Regions from separate parts of the Homo sapiens genome. Here regions 1 and 2 are each linked to region 3. The links are contacts of gene promoters, found by promoter capture Hi-C in blood cells and fetal thymus (Javierre and others, 2016). All regions are on one chromosome and are shown on one strand. The core of a region is centred on a gene start or on the middle of the fragment in contact, and the rest is flanking DNA. Distances in the headings are between cores, read along the strand shown.

The links. The method cuts DNA at HindIII sites, captures the fragments that hold promoters and counts their contacts. A CHiCAGO score of 5 or more calls a contact.
Region 1: a fragment that was not itself captured here is called in contact with the fragment with the promoter of CDK6 in region 3 in 1 of 17 cell types (erythroblasts); the score reaches 5.8 in erythroblasts.
Region 2: a contact is called between a fragment that was not itself captured here and the fragment with the promoter of CDK6 in region 3, in 16 of 17 cell types (fetal thymus, erythroblasts, activated CD4 T cells and 13 more). The highest score is 19.5, in fetal thymus.

Annotation. Positions count from the first base shown.
Region 1 is chr7:93,007,705-93,010,931 of GRCh38, reverse strand. No RefSeq gene overlaps it. Among named protein-coding and RNA genes, the nearest start is that of SAMD9, 110 kb to the left of the region's middle. The HindIII fragment of the contact is 963 bases long and covers 874-1,836 here.
Region 2 is chr7:92,609,782-92,613,154 of GRCh38, reverse strand. CDK6 (cyclin dependent kinase 6) reads left to right here. Exons shown (of 8, transcript NM_001145306.2): 8 at 1-3,373. Among named protein-coding and RNA genes, the nearest start is that of FAM133B, 21 kb to the right of the region's middle. The HindIII fragment of the contact is 254 bases long and covers 1,398-1,651 here.
Region 3 is chr7:92,834,862-92,837,988 of GRCh38, reverse strand. It overlaps CDK6 (cyclin dependent kinase 6), which reads left to right and starts at 1,416. Exons shown (of 8, transcript NM_001145306.2): 1 at 1,416-1,511. CDK6-AS1 (CDK6 antisense RNA 1) reads right to left here and starts at 1,506. Exons shown (of 2, transcript NR_110088.1): 1 at 1,426-1,506. RefSeq lists silencers at 1,114-1,473, 2,584-2,833 and an enhancer at 1,924-2,003. The HindIII fragment of the contact is 6,850 bases long and covers 1-3,127 here.

The DNA of each region.
Region 1 (3,227 bases), core at 106-2,605, 170 kb before region 3:
ATTCCCAACACTTAAAAAGTAAGCTTTTTGCATTTCAAATGCAACCTATACAAACTGTTTTGTTTACAAAGCCTCTGAGGTGAGAAGCCAGAGTTCCAAGCATCAGGAAACCATGGGTGAGCAAGATAATTTGACAGTCAGAAAAGTCGAGCTGTTCAATAATGCTACCACTTGCCTTCCATGGAGATCTGGGATTAGTGACTTCCATGACGAATTACACACATCATGGACGTGAAGTGATCTGTTTAAGGGGTTCATTTGCAAGAGCACATGAAAGCAAGAACTTATAATGAACTCTTGGAATACTTAAAGCTTAGTAGTAACAGATATAAATTACTGCAGGAAGCAAAGGATGCTTCCAGAATATGTACAAGTGTTCAGAGTCCTTTTCTGGGAAAAAGAAATATCCCCTCCTAGTATTTCCAAATTTGAACACTCTAGGAGAGTATACTAAACGTTAGAGGTTTTTCACCATTCGATTTTAAGATTTAGTAAAAAGCTACACTAATTAAGTCAATGTGGTGTTTGCATAAGGACAAACATAGAAGAGAATCAAAAATAGACCCACACAGCCGTTTGATTTTCAACAATGATGTCAAGGTTATTAAATGGGGAATAGAGTTGTTTCAATAAATGGTATTGGACAAATGGGTATACATATGAAAAAAATGTGAACCTTTGCCACCATATTTAAAAAATTAACTCCATATGGCTCACAGAATTAAGCATAAGTGCTAAAATGATAAAATATGTAGAAAAAAGGAAAAGGAGAAAATCTTGGTTACCTTGAGTTAGTCAAAGATTTCTTAGGACACTGAAATCATGAATCAAAAAGAAAAAAATGGTAAATTAGACTTCATTAAATTAAAAGCTTCTGCACTTTCAAAGATCTGAAAGACAATGTTAAGAAAATTAAAAAGCAAGACACAAGGTGGGAAAAATATTTACAAATCACATATCTGATGAAGGGCTTGTATCCAGGATATATAAAAGAACTCTCAAAACTCATAAGAAAGCAAACCACACAATTTTTAAAAAATAGGCAAAAGGTTTGAATAGATAACTTACAAAAGAAGATACACAGATGGCAAATAAGCACAAGAAAAGATGCTCAATGTCATTACTTATTAGAGAAATGCAAGTTGAAGCCATCATATGATACACGCATCAGAGTGGCTAATTTATTACACCTATCAGAGTGGCTAATTTAAAAGAATGACAATAGCAAATGTTGATTGGGATGCAGAGCACCTGAAATTCTCATACACTGCTGGTGGAAATGTAAAATGGTACTATCACATTGAGAAAAAGTTTAGCAGCTAGTTACACATTAAACAAAAAATTACCATACAATGTAGCAATTCCATTTCTAAGTATTTACCCACAAAAAATAAAAACATATGTCTGCACAAAAACCTATATGAAATTTTTATCTTTTATTTCTACAGTTCTATTCACAGTCACCAAAAGCTGGAAACAACCTAAATGGTCAAAAAGGATGAATAGATAAACTGTGGTACATTCATACAATAGAATACTACCCAGTAACAAAAAGTAACAAACTAATGATATGCACAACTGTGGGTTAATTTCAAGAGTATTATGCTGAAAGAAAAGAGCCTTACTCAAAAGGCTTCCTAAAATGATTTCATGCTCCTCATCTTTGCCATTTTAACCCAATTATAATTGCAGCATAACACTAAGGCATATTGTAGAATACAACGCTTTTGTGTGTATTTTCTATTTGATTAATCTCACAGGGTTTTTTTTTTCTACTTAACTGAACTACTTATCAATAGAAGTTAAAGAGTTTCTCTTGAAAGTCAGCCAGAAGCTTTTTACCAACAGATGTTCAGTGCTTGAAAGATAGTTCTCAGTGACAATTGGCCAGTTCAAACAGCCTCTCCACACTTTGAAAATGCCCTGAATTCGACTTTATTACTGAGTCTAATCCCATTGAGGAAGGAGTCTAGGGACAACAGACTGGTTTGGAAGAAAAGAATTTGAGAATTGATAGCTAGTGGCAGATTGGAAATTCATAATTAAGAGCAGAAAATCTGGTATGTTATCGGTACTTTGTCACCCCACCAAATCATCAGTGAACTAACCATGTCTAGTTAACGTGTTGTGGAATTTAACTCGTTTCTGTAATGCATCTATGTAGTCTTTCCTTGAAATGAGAGAAGAGAAAAAATAAAGGTTGCCTTCAAGAATTGCCATGCATTGATTTCAAGGATAGTAGAACTTGCTTCTCTGAATTATTTTGAGGATTAAATAATGTATTAAACTATCCTGTACAATACTGACCATTTAATATATGTTCAGCAAATGTTGATTTCTCCTCACTTCTTTTATACAAAGGAGAATATTTTTAGAATTGGAAAGACCTCAGAGGTTACCTGGTCTAGTGTTTTAATTTTACAAATGAGAAAACTAGGTTCGATGAGATTAAGGGGTTGCTCAAACTCACTCAGAGTTAGAAGTCCAACTTCCAGTTCACATGAATCCTTTCCCTAAAGCACCTGCTTTCAACTGTGGTGTCTCAAGCAGCAGAGCTGGAGGGAGAACTGAGGGACCAAATAATTTTATCCTAAATAAACCATATTTAGGGATCACGGACTCTTGCTTCTGGGCTTCTTGCTCTGTGTTTATTTTGGCTATTTTCAATTATTTTTTGCTTCCAAGAATGGGAGATAATGGGAAGCCTTTCTCTTTAAGGACTAGGATTGCTAAATTTAGCAAATAAATTACAAAGTGCACAATTAGATTTGAACCTCAGATAAAAAACACTTAATTTTTTAGTTTCATGAAGTATTTGGAATATACCTATGCTGACAACTTCTCTGTGTTCTCTGTTAGGGAACAATCAAATATGTGGTTCTCAACCATGACTTTTTTTTTTTTTTTTTTTTGCTCTAAAGCAAATAAGCAGTAGCAAAATGGTCACTACCTCCATGCATGAGTCTTGGCTGCCTGACAGTTTCTGCCCATGACCATTTTCCCTCACCTGGGATCTGGATAACTGTAATGGACAGCCTCTGTGGCGAAGTCTGTGCCTCATGGAGATGGTGATGGGGCAGGGCAAAGTGGATGATGTACCTAAGTGGCATTGGGAGGACATGTTTTGCCAAACAGGAAGTAGACAATTCTACCATCCAGCAGACCACGGTTCAAATCCCTTTCCCTCTTTCTAGCTGTATGGCTGTATGACTTTCAGCAAGTTGCTT
Region 2 (3,373 bases), core at 275-2,774, 220 kb after region 3:
CTTAACATTGTTCTAATTCAGTAGCTTGAGGAACAGGAACATTGTTTTCTAGAGCAAGATAATAAAGGAGATGGGCCATACAAATGTTTTCTACTTTCGTTGTGACAACATTGATTAGGTGTTGTCAGTACTATAAATGCTTGAGATATAATGAATCCACAGCATTCAAGGTCAGGTCTACTCAAAGTCTCACATGGAAAAGTGAGTTCTGCCTTTCCTTTGATCGAGGGTCAAAATACAAAGACATTTTTGCTAGGGCCTACAAATTGAATTTAAAAACTCACTGCACTGATTCATCTGAGCTTTTTGGTTAGTATTCATGGCTAGAGTGAACATAGCTTTAGTTTTTGCTGTTGTAAAAGTGTTTTCATAAGTTCACTCAAGAAAAATGCAGCTGTTCTGAACTGGAATTTTTCAGCATTCTTTAGAATTTTAAATGAGTAGAGAGCTCAACTTTTATTCCTAGCATCTGCTTTTGACTCATTTCTAGGCAGTGCTTATGAAGAAAAATTAAAGCACAAACATTCTGGCATTCAATCGTTGGCAGATTATCTTCTGATGACACAGAATGAAAGGGCATCTCAGCCTCTCTGAACTTTGTAAAAATCTGTCCCCAGTTCTTCCATCGGTGTAGTTGTTGCATTTGAGTGAATACTCTCTTGATTTATGTATTTTATGTCCAGATTCGCCATTTCTGAAATCCAGATCCAACACAAGCAGTCTTGCCGTTAGGGCATTTTGAAGCAGATAGTAGAGTAAGAACTTAGTGACTACAGCTTATTCTTCTGTAACATATGGTTTCAAACATCTTTGCCAAAAGCTAAGCAGTGGTGAACTGAAAAGGGCATATTGCCCCAAGGTTACACTGAAGCAGCTCATAGCAAGTTAAAATATTGTGACAGATTTGAAATCATGTTTGAATTTCATAGTAGGACCAGTACAAGAATGTCCCTGCTAGTTTCTGTTTGATGTTTGGTTCTGGCGGCTCAGGCATTTTGGGAACTGTTGCACAGGGTGGAGTCAAAACAACCTACATATAAAAAGAGAAAAAGAGAAACTTGTCCATTTAGCTTTCATAAGAAATCCCATGGCAAAGGGTAATAAAAAGGACCTAATCTTAAAAATACAATTTCTAAGCACTTGTAAGAACCCAGTGGGTTGGAGCCTCCCACTTTGTCCCTCCTTTGAAGTGGATGGGAACTCAAGGTGCAAAGAACCTGTTTTGGAAGAAAGCTTGGGGCCATTTCAGCCCCCTGTATTCTCATGATTTTCTCTCAGGAAGCACACACTGTGAATGGCAGACTTTTCATTTAGCCCCAGGTGACTTACTAAAAATAGTTGAAAATTATTCACCTAAGAATAGAATCTCAGCATTGTGTTAAATAAAAATGAAAGCTTTAGAAGGCATGAGATGTTCCTATCTTAAATAAAGCATGTTTCTTTTCTATAGAGAAATGTATAGTTTGACTCTCCAGAATGTACTATCCATCTTGATGAGAAAACTCTTAAATAGTACCAAACATTTTGAACTTTAAATTATGTATTTAAAGTGAGTGTTTAAGAAACTGTAGCTGCTTCTTTTACAAGTGGTGCCTATTAAAGTCAGTAATGGCCATTATTGTTCCATTGTGGAAATTAAATTATGTAAGCTTCCTAATATCATAAACATATTAAAATTCTTCTAAAATATTGCTTTTCTTTTAAGTGACAATTTGACTATTCTTATGATAAGCACATGAGAGTGTCTTACATTTTCCAAAAGCAGGCTTTAATTGCATAGTTGAGTCTAGGAAAAAATAATGTTAAAAGTGAATATGCCACCATAATTACTTAATTATGTTAGTATAGAAACTACAGAATATTTACCCTGGAAAGAAAATATTGGAATGTTATTATAAACTCTTAGATATTTATATAATTCAAAAGAATGCATGTTTCACATTGTGACAGATAAAGATGTATGATTTCTAAGGCTTTAAAAATTATTCATAAAACAGTGGGCAATAGATAAAGGAAATTCTGGAGAAAATGAAGGTATTTAAAGGGTAGTTTCAAAGCTATATATATTTTGAAGGATATATTCTTTATGAACAAATATATTGTAAAAATTTATACTAAGGTCATCTGGTAACTGTGGGATTAATATGGTCGAAAACAAATGTTATGGAGAAGCTGTCCCAAGCAAACTAAATTACCTGTACTTTTTTCCCATTTCAAGGGAAGAGGCAACCACATGAAGCAATACTTCTTACACATGCCTAAGAACGTTCATTGAAAAAATAAATTTTTAAAAGGCATGTGTTTCCTATGCCACCAATACTTTTGAAAAATTGTGAACCTTACCCAAAACCATTTATCATGTCCATTAAGTATATTTGGGTATATAATTAGGAAGATATTTACATGTTCCATCTCCACAGTGGAAAAACTTATTGAGGCTACCAAAGTGTGCCAAGAAATGTAAGTCCTTAGAGTAATTAGAAATGCTGTTTTCCTCAAAAGCATGAGAAACTAGCATTTTCATTTCTTATTTACTCCCTTTCTATATCAATGCAATTCACAACCCAATTTTAATACATCCCTATATCTCAAGCATTTCTATCTTGTACTTTTTCAGAAAATAAACCAAAAATAATCCTTTGGTCTCTCTATCTTCTGACCTTTGTAAGCAACAGAAATGTAAAAACAGAAGGGGTCCAATTTTTACACGTTTTTTTCTCAAGTAGCCTTTCTGGGGATTTTTATTTTCTTAATGAAGTGCCAATCAGCTTTTCAAAATGTTTTCTATTTCTCAGCATTTCCAGGAAGTGATAACGTTTAGCTAAATGAGTAGAAGTGGACTTCCTTCAACATATTGTTACCTTGTCTAGCCTTAGGAAGAAAACAAGAGCCACCTGAAAATAAATACAGGCTCTTTTCGAGCATCTGCTGAAATACTGTTACAGCAATTTGAAGTTGATGTGGTAGGAAAGGAAGGTGACTTTTCTTGCAAAAGTCTTTCTAAACATTCACACTGTCCTAAGAGATGAGCTTTCTTGTTTTATTCCGGTATATTCCACAAGGTGGCACTTTTAGAGAAAAACAAATCTGATGAAGACTAAAGAGGTACTTCTAAAAGAGATTTCATTCTAACTTTATTTTTCTGCGCATATTTAACTCTTTCCTAGCACTTGTTTTTTGGGATGATTAATAGTCTCTATAATGTTCTGTAACTTCAATATTTTACTTGTTACCTAGGTTCTGAACAATTGTCTGCAAATAAATTGTTCTTAAGGATGGATAATACACCCATTTTGATCATTTAAGTAAAGAAAGCCTAGTCATTCATTCAGTCAAGAAAAAATTTTTGAAGTACCCAGTTACCTTACTTTTC
Region 3 (3,127 bases), core at 167-2,666:
TGAGATTAGTAACATGGTTTTAAAGTCAAAAGATTTATAGAAGTAGTATTTCCAATTCAAACAGAATTTTGCCAGGTTTTAATTTTTCTACAAAGCACTTAAGTAAATAATTTTGTGAAAAGTTTTGCTTTAAGATGTTTTAAAGGGTTTCAAGTATTCTACAGATAGAGATTTTGGGGAGAACACCAAATTCTTTCCAAAAAGACAGCTATTTCAAGTTTTCTTTTACTCCATTGTAGAAAGTTTTAAAGACTTTTTTTTCTCCAAAATCTAATTTTCACCTGAAATAATTGTATTCAAGGGTTTCTCAGCAGGTAAAGTATACATTCTTACAAGGTTTCAAATTTCAGATTTCCAATAATGCATTTAAACTGAGCACTCCTCTTTTTGTGTATGTATCTACTATCTGCAGTTCTATTATTTACACTAAATTTTAGTCTTTTTAGCTCCTCTGAAATACGTTAGTGAACCCTCAGCAGTTACTAACCACTTAATAATTGTGAGCCCGCCAGCCCCTTCAAGTAGATCGTTAACCATAAGAGTGCCTGACAATTTCCAAACCATATCCTCTGTCTAAAAGGAAAAGATAGGGCTTTGTGAGGCAGAAAGGAAGCGAAGGAAAACAAAACAAATGTAGCTCATGCTGAAAGTGAAAAGTGCTTGGATAGATTAGTATTTTCTTTTCTGCAAGGCATCCTGCCAAACTTTTTCTTTATTTTTTTAAGAGAAGAGTTATTTTTTGGTCTGATTTTTCAGTTTCTTGGAAAGTATTGGTATTTACCACCCCCATTGGCCGCTCATAATTATTGTTGGTTGTTTTGTGTTTTTCCCATCCGTCCACGTCACACAGTGAGGATGCCCCCCGCTTCACCCTGTCAAAACCCCAACTCTGGGCGACCCTGGGTTTGGAAACTCCGCCGACTCCCGACGACACGTCCCACTCTCTCCCACTAATGCCGCTTATTTTAGTCGCAGGATCCCCCTACTACAGTTTCAGCGAAAGCCGGAAATTTTCATTTAACTCTCCCCCCCACCCCCACCCCCACCGCGCCCTTCTAGCCCCCGACTCGTAGAAGGGAGCTAGGGAGCCCGGAGCTCGGAGCACTGCCGGGACTCGGCCGCCTCATTTCTCTCCGGAAGGCTTTAATTTGCACACTTTCTTGCCACTGCGCCACGAGCCCCCAGCCCCGCCGGGGGGTGGGTCTCCGGCAGAGTTGGCTTCGCGGGTCCCTGCCCCCACCCCGCACGGTCGCCCCAGCTGCCTCCCCGGCTGGGGCCCCCAGCGCCGGCCGGAGCCCAGCGGCCCCCGTCCGCCCCCAGCGAGCGGCGCGGGCGGCGCCCTCCGCCGTCCCTCCGCCCTCCGCCGCTGTGCCCACCCCCTCGCCGGAGAGAGTGCTGGTAACTCCTTCCCCAGAGTCTGATTACCTGCTCCGCGAGGCCGCGGACACGTGCGGAGAGCCGACTGACACTCGCAGCCCCCTCGGGAGGCCCGACGCGACTGGGCCCCTCAGGTGAGGAGCTGTGCGCTCGGGTGGGTGGGCTGCGGGGTGGGGGGTCCCGGGGGAGATCTGGGGGATTGGCCGGGGTCCGAGGCAGAACTGTGGGTGGGGTAAGTGGAGGGTGGCGGGGGGTGGGGGGGACCTGTGTTTCCTTGGAATCGGCTTTGGTTAACCCCTTACGAACTGAGACGGGATTGGTTATGGGGGCCAGTTTTGGGGAGCTAGAGGATTCTCCTTATCTGATGAGAGGGGGAGATCCCAGCCTAGGGACACCCGCGACACCGAGATCCTGCTTCCACGTATCCGTACGCACACACACCCACACGGAACACGCCTCATACAGTTTCTCCAAACGGAACTGGAACTCTACTCGGACACTCACATAATAATTCACATTTAGGGTTTAAAATGCACTGCCTCTAGGGACTCCATGCTGGAGAATGTGCTTGCATTTCCCCCTCGAAAACTCCCTCTCCAGCTCGCTGAGGTGTGGGTGTGGGCTCCACCTTCCCCTCCACGAGATAAATGTTAACGCAGGCTTCCTGCGGGCGTGTTATACACAGAAAAGTGCACGCAGCCGGCCAGTGCCCAGGCTTGGAGCCCCGCGAAGACGCACGTTTGCTGTAGTTTCCAAGTTTACTTTTATAATTTAAAATATTGGAGTTAAACACACGCCCCGCAGTGAGCAGCCCTGGTCCCCGCAGCGCGCCCGTCCGTGTGCATATGGGCGCATCTGCGTGTGCGCACACGCGGGAGTCGCGGTCCCCGGTGTGGCCTCTTGTCGCTGTGCTGGTGGCGACCCTTGTGGTGCTTGGCAGGCTTCGGGAGAGGCGCATGAAGGATTTCATTGAGTGTGAAGACAGAGAGCAGAGACAGAAAGCAGAAGGAGGCGGCTGCAGCCTTTGTAGTCGCGGAGGAATGCGGAAATGTTGAAGCACTATGTCAAACTTTTTTTGAAATGGGGTCAAGTCACATTCAGCCAGCGTGGGAAAGCAACAACAACAACAAAAAAAAGTGGAGGAGAGGGGGGGAAAAGGCATTGCTGCTCCCGTTTCTCTCCGCCGAAGCCGACCGTCTGGGGGGCGAGTGGGGGGAGAGCCAGGGCAGTGCGGGGCCCGGCGGGGGCAGCAGGCGCAGTTCCCTGCGGGGGTGGGACGTCCCCGACGCTTCCTTCGCTGCGGAGCCCGGGGCTAGACTCGAGCGGGAGGGGGTTGGGGGGATGCAGGACAGGCGGGTTGGGCGGCCGGCGGCGGCTCCCCGGCTACCTGTGTGGCCCTCGACCTGGCTCAGACCCCCGGGCAGTCCCTGGGGGCTCTTTCCTCGGCTTTTAAGGAAAGTTCTGAATGTAGTGAGTGCCAGAAGCTCTGCTCTCGCCGCGGTCCGCTCCACCCGCTCATCGTGGGGGTCGCGCCGTTTGTTTAATTCCTGGCAAAAGGCGAGCGGGCCAGCGGTTGCGAGGCAGGTAATTCCGAGGTGCCCCGGGAATTCCGGACATGCGGCCGTCGTGGTGAAAGTCCTGCCGAGGCCGCGGCGGCCCTGGAGGAGGGAGGCCCCCTAGGTCCCAGATAGCTGCTGAATGGGGAGGGAAAGTTAGGGTACCCTACTCTGGCGCTTTGTTGTGCAGAGGG